3 separate regions of the Homo sapiens genome follow, and regions 2 and 3 are each linked to region 1. Evidence: promoter capture Hi-C in 16 types of primary human blood cells and fetal thymus (Javierre and others, 2016). All regions are on one chromosome and are shown on one strand. The core of a region is centred on a gene start or on the middle of the fragment in contact, and the rest is flanking DNA. Distances in the headings are between cores, read along the strand shown.

Region 1 (5,097 bases), core at 1,815-4,314:
TCAAAATCTATCACCTCTTCCCCCCCTTCCTCACTCTATAACATCCTTCCCAGTGAACATCATCCCCAGGTGGAGCCCAAAACCAGCAACTAAGGCTCTCTCATGTTAGTGAAAGGATTCCAGCTGGTGAGCCCCACCACTGTGGGGACAAACTCAATTGAGTTGAGCTATGGCCTCTGGGATGAAGGATCACAGCCACCTAATCCCACCCTCAATGTACTCAGCCACCACCACCCAGGATTTATATCCAGGGTGCACTCTGAAGAGAATAAAGCCAGTGGTATTTCTTTTCAATTCTAAAGCATAGATATTTCCCCCTAAAACACAGGAAGGGTCCAGGTTTTCAGAATGACCCTGTTTCTCAAGTCCCTTAACTGCTAACCTAGGAGCTTATTCTCTGGAGAGTTTCTGAAGAAAGGCTTCTCTTTGCCTCAGTTTCCTTATCTGTAAAATGGGTGATAATAACGGTACTACTTCCTGAGGTCCCAGTGAGAATTAGATGAGTCAATACATATAAAGGGCCTAGGACACTACCTGGCACGTAGTAAGTGCTCCGTAGGTGTTAGCTTAACTTTATTATGAACTTTATTTCTTCCATCTTATTTGTACTGCTGTCTATTTGTGATCATATATTTTTCAATTACTAAGCATTAACAGTGGCCTTGTAACAGACTATTTCAGCCCCAGTGCACCTTTGGGGCAGCAGTTTGGCTGGTGGCTTATAAATAGTCATCCCCCAGATCAGAGGCACCCACGCTTTTCTACAGACACAGTGGAAGTTGTATCTGTTAATTTCATTCATTGAGAAAATACACTGTAGATAAAAGAATCCAGCAAAGCCTTTAAATTAATTGGTAACTTTATTAATAACAATAGCATCTATACACATTTGAAAACACACATGTAGGAGACAGTTAAGATCTATTCAGTCTGTGATAATGTCTAGAGCTCATTTGGATTCATCAAACCCCTGCCATCAGCTCCAAAAGCCCTTAGCCAAAAACAGCTGAATCACTCATCAAACCATCAGTGTCTTCCTCGGCAGAATCAAGGGTTGGACAGAAAGAGTAAATATTCTGCACCTCCACAAAATAAAACTAAAATGCAATTGTCCTGCATCTGAGAATACAAGGGTGGACAGTATGAGCTGCATGACTGTGAACCAATGAGGCTTCTCTTGGCCTCATTTGTAAAAAGGAGATTAACTCTGTAGTCCCGCCTATATTGCATGGCCTCCAGAAAAGCAAATGAGGTGGTAAGTGTAAATTAAAAGCTCCTCTCCTTTAAGAGGGGAACACCATGAGGGGAGAGTAAGAAAAGGAGAAGGAAAAGGCTCTTTCCAGTGACCAACACGCTGAATTTGATGAAAATCCATAAGAGGTTATGCTAAACTGAGAAGCATAAGGGTGGATCTACCATTGCCACCTCCTCTTTGTAGCAAAAAAAATCTTAACACGGCCCCCTCCCAGCTGTTGCACTGAGGTGACTAAGGATACATTTTGAGGAAGTAGCTCCAAGAACATTTCCATTTTCACTGTGCCTTCACATACATCTAATGGAAATGAACAGCACCCTTCATCCATCCACGGAAGCGATTAAGAAAAGGGTGGGATGGAAAAATTAACCCAACAATATTAGATCAATACGTAGTATTTAAGTGTCCATAATGTGCCAGGCTGAAGATGCACGGGAAAACCACACTAGCCGGTCTGTCAAGGGCTTGAGAATACCATAAACAAGAAAACAGACGAACCAATTTCAGACAGCTGCTAGAAGGAAGATAAAATGAGACAGGCAAGTATGAGAGGCGCGAATTCCTGAGTGGATGACGTAGGTCTCTGAGAGGTGACTTTTGAGCCCGTATCTACATGGTAAGTGCCTCGCAGTGACCTGGGGCCGTAGCGTTACCATTTAAAGCACAGACCATTAAATGCAGAAATTATCAACAAAATGAGAAATAGGAATTTCAAAGTCTCAAAGTGAACGACGGAAACTGAAATCTACAAATTAGAAAAAGGCGCAGAATTTTGAATATTCTTGTCGCCCAATCAGGACAAGGCTGGGACCCGGCTGCGCGGCCTTCGTCCAAAATACACAGAACGGCTGGTATCCACAGGAGGCCCCATCGCACGGCAGAACTGGTGACCGGACACAAAAGCTGCTGCCAAGCGTCAGTCATACAGAGCTGTCACGCAGTGTTTGCGGAACCCGGGCTGAATTGTGTCCTGGAGTTCTCTTAAATGACAGCCGAACTCAGCCACTTCGTTTTAGAATGAAACAGACCCAAGGAGCCACCAGGGCGCGTGTGGGGCGGGAGTGGGGGCGGGTAAAGAGGCGGATTCCCAACAGCCTAATTGAGAACCGACTCCTGGGAAGGCTAAGCAGCACAATGAGTAAAGACACGCTCTAGATTCAAAAGCAAATCCAATGACGCACTGGGGACCTCGAGTTCCAAATAGTTAAAAAGCTACGTATGCCATTTCCCATGACCTTCACACTAAAATAACTTACTTTATGAAAAGAAACTAAGGGAATAAGTGAACAAGCTCTTTTCTAGTGATTAGGTGGGTGGCTCTGAAAAGAGCCTTTGGAGTCAAGCAGCCGGCGACTCGAGCGAGCGAGCGCCAGGTCCCGGCAGGGACTCACTTGGAGCTGGTGTACTTGGTGACCGCCTTGGTGCCCTCGGACACGGCGTGCTTGGCCAGCTCGCCGGGCAGCAGCAGGCGCACGGCCGTCTGGATCTCGCGGGATGTGATGGTGGAGCGCTTGTTGTAGTGCGCCAGGCGGGAAGCCTCTCCCGCGATGCGCTCGAAGATGTCGTTGACGAAGGAGTTCATGATGCCCATGGCCTTGGACGAGATGCCGGTGTCGGGGTGGACCTGCTTCAGCACCTTGTACACGTAGATGGAGTAGCTCTCTTTGCGGCTGCGCTTGCGCTTCTTGCCGTCTTTCTTCTGGGCTTTGGTGACGGCTTTCTTGGAGCCCTTTTTAGGGGCCGGAGCGGATTTTGCCGGTTCAGGCATGGTAAGACACAGTACAAACGCGGCTTAGCCAAGAAAAGAAGTAAGAGAATGGGCGGGCCTGATTCTTTTATAACCACCTTATGCAAATTAGGGCTCCGAAAGTCGTTCATTTCCATTGGTCCGTGTGCGGACCTTGCGTTTTCAGCAATGCGTACGTAACAACACCGACTCTTGACTTGATTGGCCGGTTCTGAAGCCATATTAGGACCAATGAAAAACTCGTTCTTGACCCCACCCCTAGGAAAGCTTATAAAGGCTTTCCTCTTGGTTCTCTTTCAATCTTATTTTGTTGCGAGGTTCTGAGCGTTGTCTGTGTTTAACCTTGATTTCAGTCATGTCTGGTCGTGGCAAACAAGGAGGCAAGGCCCGCGCCAAGGCCAAGTCGCGCTCGTCCCGCGCTGGCCTCCAGTTCCCGGTAGGGCGAGTGCACCGCTTGCTGCGCAAAGGCAACTACGCGGAGCGGGTGGGGGCCGGCGCGCCCGTCTACATGGCGGCGGTCCTCGAGTACCTGACCGCCGAGATCCTGGAGCTGGCGGGCAACGCGGCTCGGGACAACAAGAAGACGCGCATCATCCCTCGTCACCTCCAGCTGGCCATCCGCAACGACGAGGAACTGAACAAGCTGCTGGGCAAAGTCACCATCGCCCAGGGCGGCGTTTTGCCTAACATCCAGGCCGTTCTGTTACCAAAGAAAACCGAAAGCCACAAAGCCAAAAGCAAATAAATGCAGACAAACAAACCAAGACCAAAGGCTCTTTTTAGAGCCACCCAAGTTTTCAAAAAAAGAGCTAATGCGCTATTTCGTGATCAGCCCTTCATTTGACACTTTGGTGGCTCTTAAAAGAGCCTTTGGGGTGAATGAGTATGGTGTCAAGCCTCTTAATTACTTGTTCTTGCCAGGCTTGTGACTCTCCGTTTTCTTGGGCAACAGGACAGCCTGGATATTGGGCAAGACGCCGCCCTGGGCAATGGTGACACCCCCGAGTAACTTGTTGAGCTCTTCGTCATTCCTCACGGCTAGTTGCAGATGGCGAGGGATGATGCGCGTCTTCTTGTTGTCCCGAGCCGCGTTGCCCGCCAGCTCCAGAATTTCCGCGGTCAGGTACTCGAGGACCGCCGCCAGGTACACCGGGGCGCCTGCCCCGACCCGCTCCGCGTAGTTGCCTTTGCGCAGCAAGCGGTGCACTCGCCCCACCGGGAACTGGAGACCAGCGCGGGACGAGCGCGACTTGGCCTTAGCGCGGGCCTTGCCTCCCTGCTTTCCGCGTCCTGACATTACGGCTAAAATTGCAGTTACAGCTTCTTTTACAAGGAGAAGAATGTGGAAAGAATAACCAATTTGATGTAATTTATAAGAGCTACCGGGAGGGGTGAAGGGAAGTCGTTTGATTGGCTAAAAGCGGAGCCGTATCTAACAGCCAATAGAAAAGCAGAAAGCCGCCTCTTGGTTTGCGTCCTGCACTGAAAGGAAATGACGGATTTTGTAAGTATCTACCAATCGCTGAGAGCCACATTAAAGCCCCTTATTTGCATGCCAGGATCTTTAAAGAGAGCAGGCTTTCAAACAAAATACTGGTTTTGTTTTACTGAGAGGCACTGTGGGTTTTTGTTTTGTTTTGCTTTGCTTTGTTTAGTTTACAGCCGGGAAATCCCAATATGGACCCTAAGGAACTGCAGAAGACATCCTTAGACGGAGAGTTACTCTCACGAAAGAGTAGGGGATTCTGAAGCCGATGATCCCCTTGAGCTCTAAACTGCCAAGTCCCGCCCTTTCTGTCTCGTCACAGCCAAATTCCCTTTAAAAATACATGTACTACTAAGGCTGCCTCCTTTCTCGCCCCTAAACTTAAGTCGCCCGCAGCGGCGTGTCTCCGCCCCACCCCCACCCGCCTGCACTCCTCGGAATCCGGTTTGACCGAGGCTAGAATAGATTTGTCATCCTCCTCTTGACCTCCAGGAGGCGGCCTTCAAACTTGCTCCCTTGGCTTTCAAAATGTCGCCCTGTTTTTCTTCTTACCTCGCCGACTTTTCTTATCCTGCTCCCCCATGCCACTGCCCATCTCTAAATCTGCGA
Region 2 (5,097 bases), core at 1,308-3,807, 320 kb after region 1:
CAGTGAAATCCCATCTCTACTAAAAATACAAAAATTAGCCAGGCGTGGTGGTGGGCGCCTGTAATCCCAGCTACTCGGGAGGCTGAGGCAGAAGAGTCACTTGAACCCGGGAGGCAGAGGTTGCAGTGAGCCGAGATCACGCCACTGCACTCCAGCCTAGGCAACAAGAGTGAATTCCGTCTCAATAAATAAATAAAGTGGCCGGGCGCAGTGGCTCACACCTGCAATCCCAGCACTTTGGGAGGCCAAGACGGGCAGTTAGCAAGGTCAGGAGTTTGAGACCAGCCTGACCAACATGGTGAAACCTCATCTGTACTAAAAATACAAAAATTATCCCAGCGTGGTGGTGCATGCCTGTATTCCCAGCTACTCAGGAGGCTGAGGCAGGAGAATTGCTTGAACCCAGGAGGCGGAGGTTGCAGTGAGCTGAGATCACACCACTGCAGTCCAGCCTGGGTGACAGAGCAAGACTCCATCTCAATAAATAAATAAATAAATAAATAAATAAAATTTAAAAAATTTTAAAAAGACAAAAAGGAGAAATATTATCATCTAATATAAAAAATGATTCGTATAATTATTATATTTAAAAACTGTGGCCGGGCACGGTGGCTCACACCTGCAATCCCAGCACTTTGGGAGGCCAAGGTGGGCGGATCACTTGAGGCCAGGAGTTTGTGACCAGCCTGGCCAACATGGCAAAACCCCACCTCTACTAAAAATATAAACATTAGCCAGGGTGGTGGAATCCCAGCTACCCGGGTGGCTGAGGCACAAAAATTGCTTGACCCTGAGAGGCGGAGGTTGCAGTGAGCCGAGATCACACCACTGCACTCCAGCCTGGGCAACAGAGCGAGACTCTGTCTCAAAAAAAAAAAAAGGAAAGAAAGAAAAATAGAAAGTATGTTAATAGAATAAAGTAATTTACATAGAATCAAAGGAAGCAAGAATTTGGCAGCATTAGTCTAATAGTGCTGAGCGTACTGCTGCCAAAGTCAGACAAACTGAACACAACAAATACTAAAACCTCTAGAAAGAATAGTGTGGATCAGGGTAGGTTCCTCATACTTGTCAAACACATAAAATATCCCTCTAGCACCCTCTCCTCCACTTCTATGCTCACCTGAGAGGATTCTGATTGTGCACTTGGCCTCTCAGTTACCTTTCCTAGAAGGGATACACGAGACCTTCACCTAGCAACATGACTACTGCACTTGAAATGTGGCTAATCCAGGCACTTTGGGAGGCCAAGGAGGGAGGATCACTTGAGCCCAGGAGTTTGAGACCAGCCTGGGCAACATGGTGAGATCCTATCTTTATAAAAAGAAAAAAAAGAAGAAGAAAGTAACTAAATAAAAATAAAACTCTGTTAAAAAAAAAAAGAAAGAAAGAAAAGTGGCTATCTGAATTGAGATTTGCTGTAAGCATAAAATCCATCCCAGATTTGGAAGACTTTGCATGAAAAAAATACAAAACATCTTACTAATGATTTTTTACATTGATTACATGTAGAAAGTATAATATTTTGAATATGTTGGGTTAATTAAAATACATTAAAATTAATTTTACCTGTTTCTTTTTAGTTTTTTAAATATGTCTACTAGAAAATTCTAAATACATCTGTGACTTGCATTTTTATTTTATTTATTTATTTATTTCTTGAGACAGAGTCTCATTCTGTCACCCAGGCTGGAGTAGAGTGGCTCGATCTTGGCTTACTGCAGCCTCTGCCTCCCAGGCACAAACAATTCTCCTACCTCAGCCTCCCGAGTAACTGGGATTACAGACACCCACCACCATGCCTGGCTAATTTTTGTGTTTTTAGTAGAGACAGGGTTTCACCATGTTGGCCAGGCTGGTCTCCAACTCCTGACCTCAGGTGATCCACCCGCCTTGGCCTCCCAAAGTGCTGGGATTATAGGTGAGAGCCACCGCACTCCACCAACTTGCATTTTTGACAGAATTATATGTCTATTAAAGAGCGCCAATTTAGAACACTGAACAATAATACCATAAACAATGTAAATATACATTCTCCCTGTAAATTAATAAATTGACAACTTGATTTAGAAATCTGACTTTGGTGAATTTTCACGGCACAAGTCTGTCCCTCACATATTGATCGATTTTGTATTTACAAACTCAAATACATCTCCTTCTATAGCCCTGCAAAATGAAGGATCACGCCTTCACTGAAGTGAGCAAATCAAAGTTTTGGCATCTTCTGAGCTTTCTGGGCACAAGCTGTCAGCTCAGCCATTTCTCTGCCTGCAATTTCGCTCTTGGTTTATAATCTTGGGTTTAGGCTGTTTTTCAAGGGATAGAGTTGGTATCATTCATATTTGTTTTCCTATCACTTATGTTCCTTAAACAAAGGATTTTAAAAGTTTGTTAAATATTCTACATTTTATGCCTTTGATCATAGCTGTAAGACTGCTTGCCTTGAAAAGGATTTGCACATAATTCTCCATGGTTTTTTTCTTAATATGTTAATTGCAAACCGCTTGTAAAGATTGAGTACATGAAGATCTGAAAGACAGCAGTTATTTACAGTCATGTAAAGTAAAAATGGCAAGTGATATCTAATTAATAGCTAATAACCTAATAATATGGAGTGGAAACTTGATAACCATTACAGCACACTGTATTTTATTATCAAGGACAGAGCCTTAGAGACAGACCACAGAATTGATGTTTCATCATTATGCGATGGCCTACATTATATGACCTCTTATTTGTCCCTCAACTCCAATAGCAACCTCAAGGCTGATATAGAATAGCAGTGGAAAGGAAAATAAATGACACAAAAAGAAAAGTAGGTTTATCATGGGACCAATGTAGTGCTTTGGCCTCATAGCAGAGACCAGATGGTAGCAGCTCCTCTCTCAGCAGGTAGCTCTTCAATATCCTACGGGTTGTAAACAACAAATTCACATCATCTCCACCTGCTAATAAGTATTTTTTAAAATATTGCGGCAACATCGAAACAATGCTGAAAATACAATCCCTCAATATAAGAAAAAAAGTTTTCCTAAATATTTAGTCTGTTAAAAGAAAAAGTCTTTTCTGAGAAATGCTATTACCCACTAGAAAATCTTGGCTTCTTAAAATCCAAGAATATTCTCATCTCTTTTTTTTTTTTTTTTCTTTTTTTGAGACAGAGTCTCACTCTGTTGCCCAGGCCAGAGTGCAGTGGCGCGATCTTGGCTCACTGCAAGCTCCACCTCCCAGGTTCAAGCGATTCTCCTGCCTCAGCCTCCTGAGTAGCTGGGATTACAGGCACGTGCCACCATGCCCGGCTAATTTTTGTATTTTTTAGTAGAGACGAGGTTTCACCATATTGGCCAGGCTGCTCTCCAACTCCTGACCTTGTGATCCACCTGCCTCGGCGTCCCAAAGTGTTGGGATTACAGGCGTGAGCCACAGCGCTCGGCCTCTTTTTTTTAAATAAAGTAAATGGCCCTCATTTTACCCAATTTTGTGACTTTGTAAAAGCCAATGAAAATGCCTGAGAAACTACTGACATTAGTTTTACTGCAGTTAAATATTTGTTAACTTTGCCAGGCGCGGTGTCCCGTGCCTGTAGTCCCAGCTACTTGGGAGGCTGAGGCAGGAGACGGCTTGAGCCCAGGAGTTCTGGGCTGTAGTGTGCTATACCGATCGCGTGTCCGCACTAAGTTCGGCACCAATATGGTGACCTCCCAGGAACAGGGGACCACGAGGTTGCCTAAGGGGAGGGGTAAACTGGCCAAGGTCAGAAATAGAGCAGGTCAAAACTCCCGTGCGGATCAGTAGCAGGATCGTGCTTGTGAATAGCCACTGCACTCCACCCTGGGTAACAGACCCTGTCTCTCTAGATAGATAGATAGATAGATAGATAGATAGATAGATAGATAGATAGATAGAGCGTATATATATACATATGCTAATTCTATAGAAACATGTAACTGTCCTTTGACATTTTAATAAAAATTGTGTATACAAGATTTCAAATTTAATTATTCTCTTCTCCTTCCATAGGATCAAAGACATCTTTTGGTTGCACAAGAAAAAGTGAAGCAAATATTCTCTGAAAAGTGACTGATGCCAATAAAACGTATAATTTTTGTATGTTTAATAGAGATGGGGTTTCACCATGTGTTGGCGCGCGCCTGTAGTCCCAGCTACTCTGGAGGCTGAGGCAGGAGAATCGCTTGAACTCAGGAGGCGGAGGTTGCAATGAGCCGAAATCGTGCTACTGCACTCCAGCCTGGCAACAGAGCGAGACTCTGTCACACACACAAAAAAAGTATAATTTGATGACAGTTTTTCTTCAATAGTTTAAGACACTTCTAACAAACTATAATTTAGTTGTCCTAATTAAAAGAAGAAAAATGTTAATAATCTCACACAGTGACCTCTACAAAATGTCCCTCAATGGACCCATTCTTTCCTTCGGAGAGAGAGGAAAAGGATCCTACATCTTATACCTTAAAGCTCTTAATCACTTTACATGTGGGCTACATGTCATTTTTCAACGGTTTCCCTCTGGGTAGCTGGTTGCTCCAATATTTTCCAGAATTGATTCGTTCTTAGGTACCAACTTGACCGTTCAATTCAGCAATTCTGGCTTTAAAATAGAAGAAAAGGCCGGGCGCGGTGGCTCACGCCTGTAATCCCAGCACTTTGGGAGGCCGAGGAGGGCAGATCACGAGGTCAGGAGATCGAGACCATCCTGGCTAACACGGTGAAATCCTATCTCCACTTAACATACAAAATATTAGCCAGGCGTGGTGGCGGGCGCCTATAGTCCCAGCTACTCGAGGCAGGAGAATGGCGTGAACCTGGGAGGCAGAGCTTGCAGTGAGCCGAGATCGTGCCACTGTGCTCCAGCCTGGGCGACAGAGCAAGACTCTGTCTCAAAAAAATAAATAAATAAATAAATAATAAAATAAAATAGAAGAAAAATAGGAGTAGGAACAACGTGGAATAGTAGGTTAGCCCCTGGGGACAAGAAGAGAAATTCACTTAAGCAAAGGTCACCTAAGTGCAAACTTGAACCAGACTGTGCACAAACAAGTGACAGAAGCGAAAGTGGCCTCAGCTGCAAACGCAGCA
Region 3 (5,097 bases), core at 659-3,158, 300 kb after region 1:
CAATTCTCCTGCCTCAGCCTCCCAAGTAGCTGGGATTACAGACGTCCGCCACCACACCCGGCTAATTTTTGTGTTTTTAATAGAGACGGGGTTTCACCATGTTGGCCAGGATGGTCATGATCTCTTGACCTCGTGATCCGCCTGCCTCAGCCTTCCAAAGTGCTGGGATTACAGGTGTGAGCCACCGTGCCTGGCTAGTTCTATGAATTTTAACACTTGCAAATTACTGAGAACTTGATATTTAAAAAATAAAAAAGGAGTTTGGACTGTCACTAACTTCCTCCCCTCATCAAATTTCTCACTGACTTAGTTGATTTCACTGAAGAACTAAACAAAAAATAAGAATAATCGGGCCGGGAGCAGTGGTTCATGCCTGTAATCCCAGCAGTTTGGGAGACTGAGACAGGTGGATTACTTGAGGCCAGGAGTTTGCGACCAGCCTGGGCAACATGGTGAAACCCCGTCTCTATTAAAAATACAAAAAATTAGCCAGGCTTGGTGGTGCATGCCTGTAATCCCAGTTTCTGGGGAGGCTGAGGCACGAGAATCATTTGAGTCTGGGAGGCGGAGGTTGCAGTGAGCAACCTGTATCAAAAAAATAATAATTTTTTTCTGTCTCAAAAAATAATAATTTTTTTTTTTGAGACAGAGTCTCGCTCTGTCGCCCAGGCTAGAGTGCAGTGGTGCAACCTCTGCTCACTGCAACCTCCCTGCCTCCCGGGCTCAAGTGATTCTCGTGCCTCAGCCTCCAGAGTAACAGGGACTACAGGCACGCACCACCACGCCTGGCTAATTTTTGTAATTTTAGTAGAGACGGGGTTTCACCATATTGCCCAGGCTGGTCTTGAACTCCAGAGCTCAAGTGATTTGCCCTCCTTGGCCTCCCAAAGTGCTGGTATTACAGACATTAGCCAGCATGCCCGGCCTAAATACATTTGTATAATTAAAAATATTTCATTCTTTATTAACATTTTCAGACCTAGTTTTTTTTATCATTTAGTGAAATTGAAAGTCATAGAGCTCTACAATCGTCAAGCTCTTATTAGCAGACCGTTGGAATGGAAATCTGTTTTAGCTACTGTAACGGTTAATACTGAGTGTCAACTTGATTGGATTGAAGGACGCAAAGTATTGATCCTGGGTGTGTCCGTGAGGGTGTTGCAAAAAGAGATTAACATTTGAGTCAGTGGGCCGGGAACGGCAGATCCACCCTTAATCTGGCACCCTAATCAGCTGCCAGTGCAGCTAGAATATAAGCAGGCAGAAAAATGTGAAAAGAGAGACTGGCCTAGCCTCCCAACCTACATCTTCCTCCCGTGCTGGCTGCTTCCTGCCCTCGAACATCAGACTCCAAGTTCTTCAGTTTTGGAACTCGGACTGGCTCTCCTTACTCCTCAGCCTGCAGATGGCCTATTGTGGGACCTTGTGATCATGTGAGTTAATAAACTCCCCTTTATTCTCCCATTAGTTCTGTCCCTTTAGAGAACCCTGACTAATACAGCTACCCAGAGCGGTTTGTGATCACTGCCCGATCTCTTCTTCAGAGGCTGTGGCATTACTGACTCTGTTTTTACTGGGTTCATCCTATTCTCTTTCTCTCTCTCTCTCTTTTTTTTTCTTTTGAAACAGGGTCGTGCTTTGTCACCAGGCTGGAGTACAGCAACATGATCTCAGCTCACTGCAACCTCTGCCTCCTGAGCTCAAGCAATCCTCCTGTCTCAGCCTCCAGAGTACCTGAGACTACAGGCACGTGCCAACTCACCCTGCTAATTTTGGAGGGGGCACAGGGTGGGATGGATTTGGTAGAGACAGGTTTTACCATGTTGCCCAGGCTGGTCTTGAACTCCTGGGCTCAAGCCATCCACCAGCCTCGGCCTCCCAAAGTGCTGGGATTACAGGTGTGAGCCACCGCACCTGGCCCCATTCTGATTAATGCAATTAGAAAGTCTTCTAATCATACAATAAAGCAAAGTGCAAATAGTTCTTATGCTTTCATCTTTAAAGGGCAACCAAATGATTTAGAATATATATATTTGAAACTATAACCTAGAAAAGTCATATGACTTGGAAGTAAAAAGCTAAAGCAAAACACAAAATCTGGAAATATATCATTCTGATCACAGAGAGAGGAGAGGTATATGTCACCAGATATTAAAAGGATCTTTTTTCAGTTATATAAAAAAGTCAAGCTATTCTGGAATATGCAATTATTTAAAACATCCAGAAGTTTTTCTAAAAAACAAATTATGGTAGAAATTTGTTTATATATTCATTGCTAATTTCTTAGCACTTTAAATCCCTTAGGTGAAGGAAAATTCCTTAGGTTTTTATATTAAGGAACTGTGGCAGGCAGAATAATCCCTCCTCACCCTAAGTCCATGTCCTAATCCTCAGAGTGAATATGTTACCTTACAGGACAAAAGGGATTTTGCAGGTGTGATGAAGTTAAGGATTTTGAGGCGGGGAGATTATCCTGGGCCCAGCGTAATCACAAGAGTCCTTATAAGTAAAAGAGGGAAACGGGAAAGTCAGAGCCAGAGATGCTGGAAGTGGAGGTCAGCGTGGTGCAATAGTTAGCTTTGAGATGAAGCGGGGCCATGAGCCAAGGAATTCGGGCAGCATCTAGAAGCTGGAAAAGCCAAAGAACAGATTCTCCCCTAGAGCCCGCAGAAGGAACACAGCCCTGTGGACACCTTGATTTTAGCACCGTAAGATCCATTTCCATCATCTAACCTCTAAAACTGTAAGAAAATTAATTTGTGTTAAGTGGCTTCATTTGTGGTAATTTGTTATAGCAACAATATGAAACTAATACAGGAGCATTTTATTAGTCTTTTAGTACTTTGACTATCCCGTTCAGTCAGAATTGTGGCATTTAAATAATTACATCTCATATATATATGTATTTTTTTTTTTAGATGGAGTCTTGCCCTGTCGCCCAGGCTGGAGTGCAGTGGGGCGATCTCGGCTCACTGCAAGCTCCGCCTCCTGGGTTCACGCCATTCTCCTGCCTCAGCCTCCCAAGTAGCTGGGACTACAGGCACCCACCACCACGCCGGCTTAATTTTTGTCTTGTTTTTTGTTTTTTTTTTTTTAGTAGAGACAGGGTTTCACCATGTTAGCCAGGATGGTCTCGATCTCCTGACCTCGTGATCCACCCGCCTCGGCCTCCCAAAGTGCTGGGATTACAAGCGTGAGCCACCGTGCCTGTCCAATTACATCTCATATTATCATGTTGGCTATAAAACTGTATGCACCCTTTTTATGGTTGCTAATAAAAATGTTTTTGCTCAAATATACTTGCTATTTACCTTTAAGTGAATAATGTATTCCAGAATTAAAATCCAGGGCAAATATACACACAATAAGGAGCACCACTCTAGCAATACCAGACACATTTAGTAGACATGACACATGCATTTAAATATGTGGAAAATTCTAAGCAGCTACCTATCAAATCTCAAGAGATAAAGTCCAGCAGCCCAACCACACTGGCTGTCAAACAGGCTGAAATTTGATTCAGAAAATAGAATCTGATTCAGAAGACAAAAATGGTAACGTTAACAATGCTATTTTGATGTGACCCTTTAGCAGAAAGCTGACCTTTTCGGCAGTTGTTAAAAAGCAAGGTATGTCTGTAGGAGAGAGCAGAGCTTGATAAATGAAGAAAACAGGTCTATCCCCATAATATAGAGAGAAATCACTGACAATTTAGTCTCATCTTGTTCCACTATCATTTTAACAGTGGAAGCTGCCACTGCGAAAGCTCGCTGCATGGCACCTGTTAGGCCTCATTCTCATCTCGCAGTTCCCAGAATTCCTCTTGATTGCAGCATCCATACACTCTTCATTTTCCTGCAAGGTATTATTTGGACACTCTTCAAGAATCCTTTTTCTTTTTTTTTCCCGAGATGGAGCCTCACTTCGTTGCCCAGGCTGGAGTGTAGCGGCGCAATCTCGGCTCACTGCAACCTCCTCCTCCCGGGTTCAAGCGATTCTCCTGCCTCAGCCCCCCGAGTAGCTAGGACTACAGGCGTGCGCCACCACACCAGCTAATTTTTGTATTTTTAGTAGAGGCGGGGTTTCACCATGTTAGCCAGGCTGGTCTCGAACTCCTGACTTCAAGGGATCCGCCCACCTCTGCCTCCCAAAGTGCTGGGATTACAAGCATGAGCCACCACACCCGACCCTCTTAAGGAATCCTAATTGCAACTTTTAAGGCTTGTAATTCCTCCAAATAACTAAAGCAATAGCACATACTCTAAAAAGAAAACTTTTCTTCCTTTGCCAATATATTGACAAATTTGGAAAAGATAAAATCCCAACATAATGTTCATTGTTCTTATGATTATGACTCTTGAAACTTTATGCAGATAACTCTGTACACAGACTAGTCCCTCATCTTTCCCAAAATGCTTAAGAAAAACAAGAATGTTTAATCCAGATGCTGTTTTCTAAATTGGCCAATTCAGTTTAGCACTTACATCTTAAGAAAGTAAGCTTCAAAAATTCTCCTGTTTCTCCTGTGATGTGTCAATATCATTTGGCCTTTGGCTTCAATTAGGACATGAGTTGATTTCTTCTTAGCCCTAACTAATGGTCATGTAGTAGACTGACTTTTCAAATAGTGTGTTTAGAATAAATTAGTTCATTACAGAACATTTTCTTTATTTTCAGCTGGCATCAATGTGGGCATCAAGGTGTCCTCCTACTAAGCAGTTTAATCTGAATTGGTAACATGGATTATATATACCTATAGTAACTTGGAGATTTTACTGTATTTCTCTTTTGAGATGTTTTACATAATTTTTTTCTCCTTGATGTGCTACTAAAATGTCTGTAGAAAACTGTATGCTTTAAGTCTAAACATCAAGTACAGTGTGGGTTGAAGGGATGATATCAAAAAAAAGCAAACTCCATCCTTTTTTTTTTTTTTTTTGTAGACAGAGTCTCGCTCTGTCACCCACGGCGTGGAGTGTAGTGGCACGATCTCGGCTCACTGCAACCTCCGCCTCCCAGATTCAAGTGATTCTCCTGCCTCAGCCTCCCAGTAGCTGGGACTACAGGCATGTGCCACCACGCCCAGCTAATTTTTTT

Evidence for each region. The method cuts DNA at HindIII sites, captures the fragments that hold promoters and counts their contacts. A CHiCAGO score of 5 or more calls a contact.
Region 2: a fragment that was not itself captured here is called in contact with the fragment with the promoter of H2BC21 in region 1 in 16 of 17 cell types (fetal thymus, endothelial precursors, erythroblasts and 13 more); the score reaches 11.4 in fetal thymus.
Region 3: a fragment that was not itself captured here is called in contact with the fragment with the promoter of H2BC21 in region 1 in 17 of 17 cell types (erythroblasts, megakaryocytes, fetal thymus and 14 more); the score reaches 16.0 in erythroblasts.

Annotation. Positions count from the first base shown.
Region 1 is chr1:149,883,618-149,888,714 of GRCh38, forward strand. H2BC21 (H2B clustered histone 21) reads right to left here and starts at 3,065. Exons shown (of 1, transcript NM_003528.3): 1 at 842-3,065. The coding sequence starts at 3,023. The coding sequence ends at 2,643. It overlaps H2AC20 (H2A clustered histone 20), which reads left to right and starts at 3,301. Exons shown (of 1, transcript NM_003517.3): 1 at 3,301-3,794. The coding sequence starts at 3,358. The coding sequence ends at 3,747. H2AC21 (H2A clustered histone 21) reads right to left here and starts at 4,348. Exons shown (of 1, transcript NM_175065.3): 1 at 3,852-4,348. The coding sequence starts at 4,299. The coding sequence ends at 3,907. RefSeq lists enhancers at 1,668-2,261, 2,039-2,118, 2,529-2,618, 2,689-2,978, 3,299-3,368 and 6 more. The HindIII fragment of the contact is 10,069 bases long and covers 1-3,267 here.
Region 2 is chr1:150,208,073-150,213,169 of GRCh38, forward strand. It overlaps the pseudogene RN7SL480P. Among named protein-coding and RNA genes, the nearest start is that of ANP32E, 25 kb to the right of the region's middle. The HindIII fragment of the contact is 5,688 bases long and covers 1-5,097 here.
Region 3 is chr1:150,188,750-150,193,846 of GRCh38, forward strand. No RefSeq gene overlaps it. Among named protein-coding and RNA genes, the nearest start is that of LINC02988, 31 kb to the left of the region's middle. The HindIII fragment of the contact is 5,180 bases long and covers 1-4,498 here.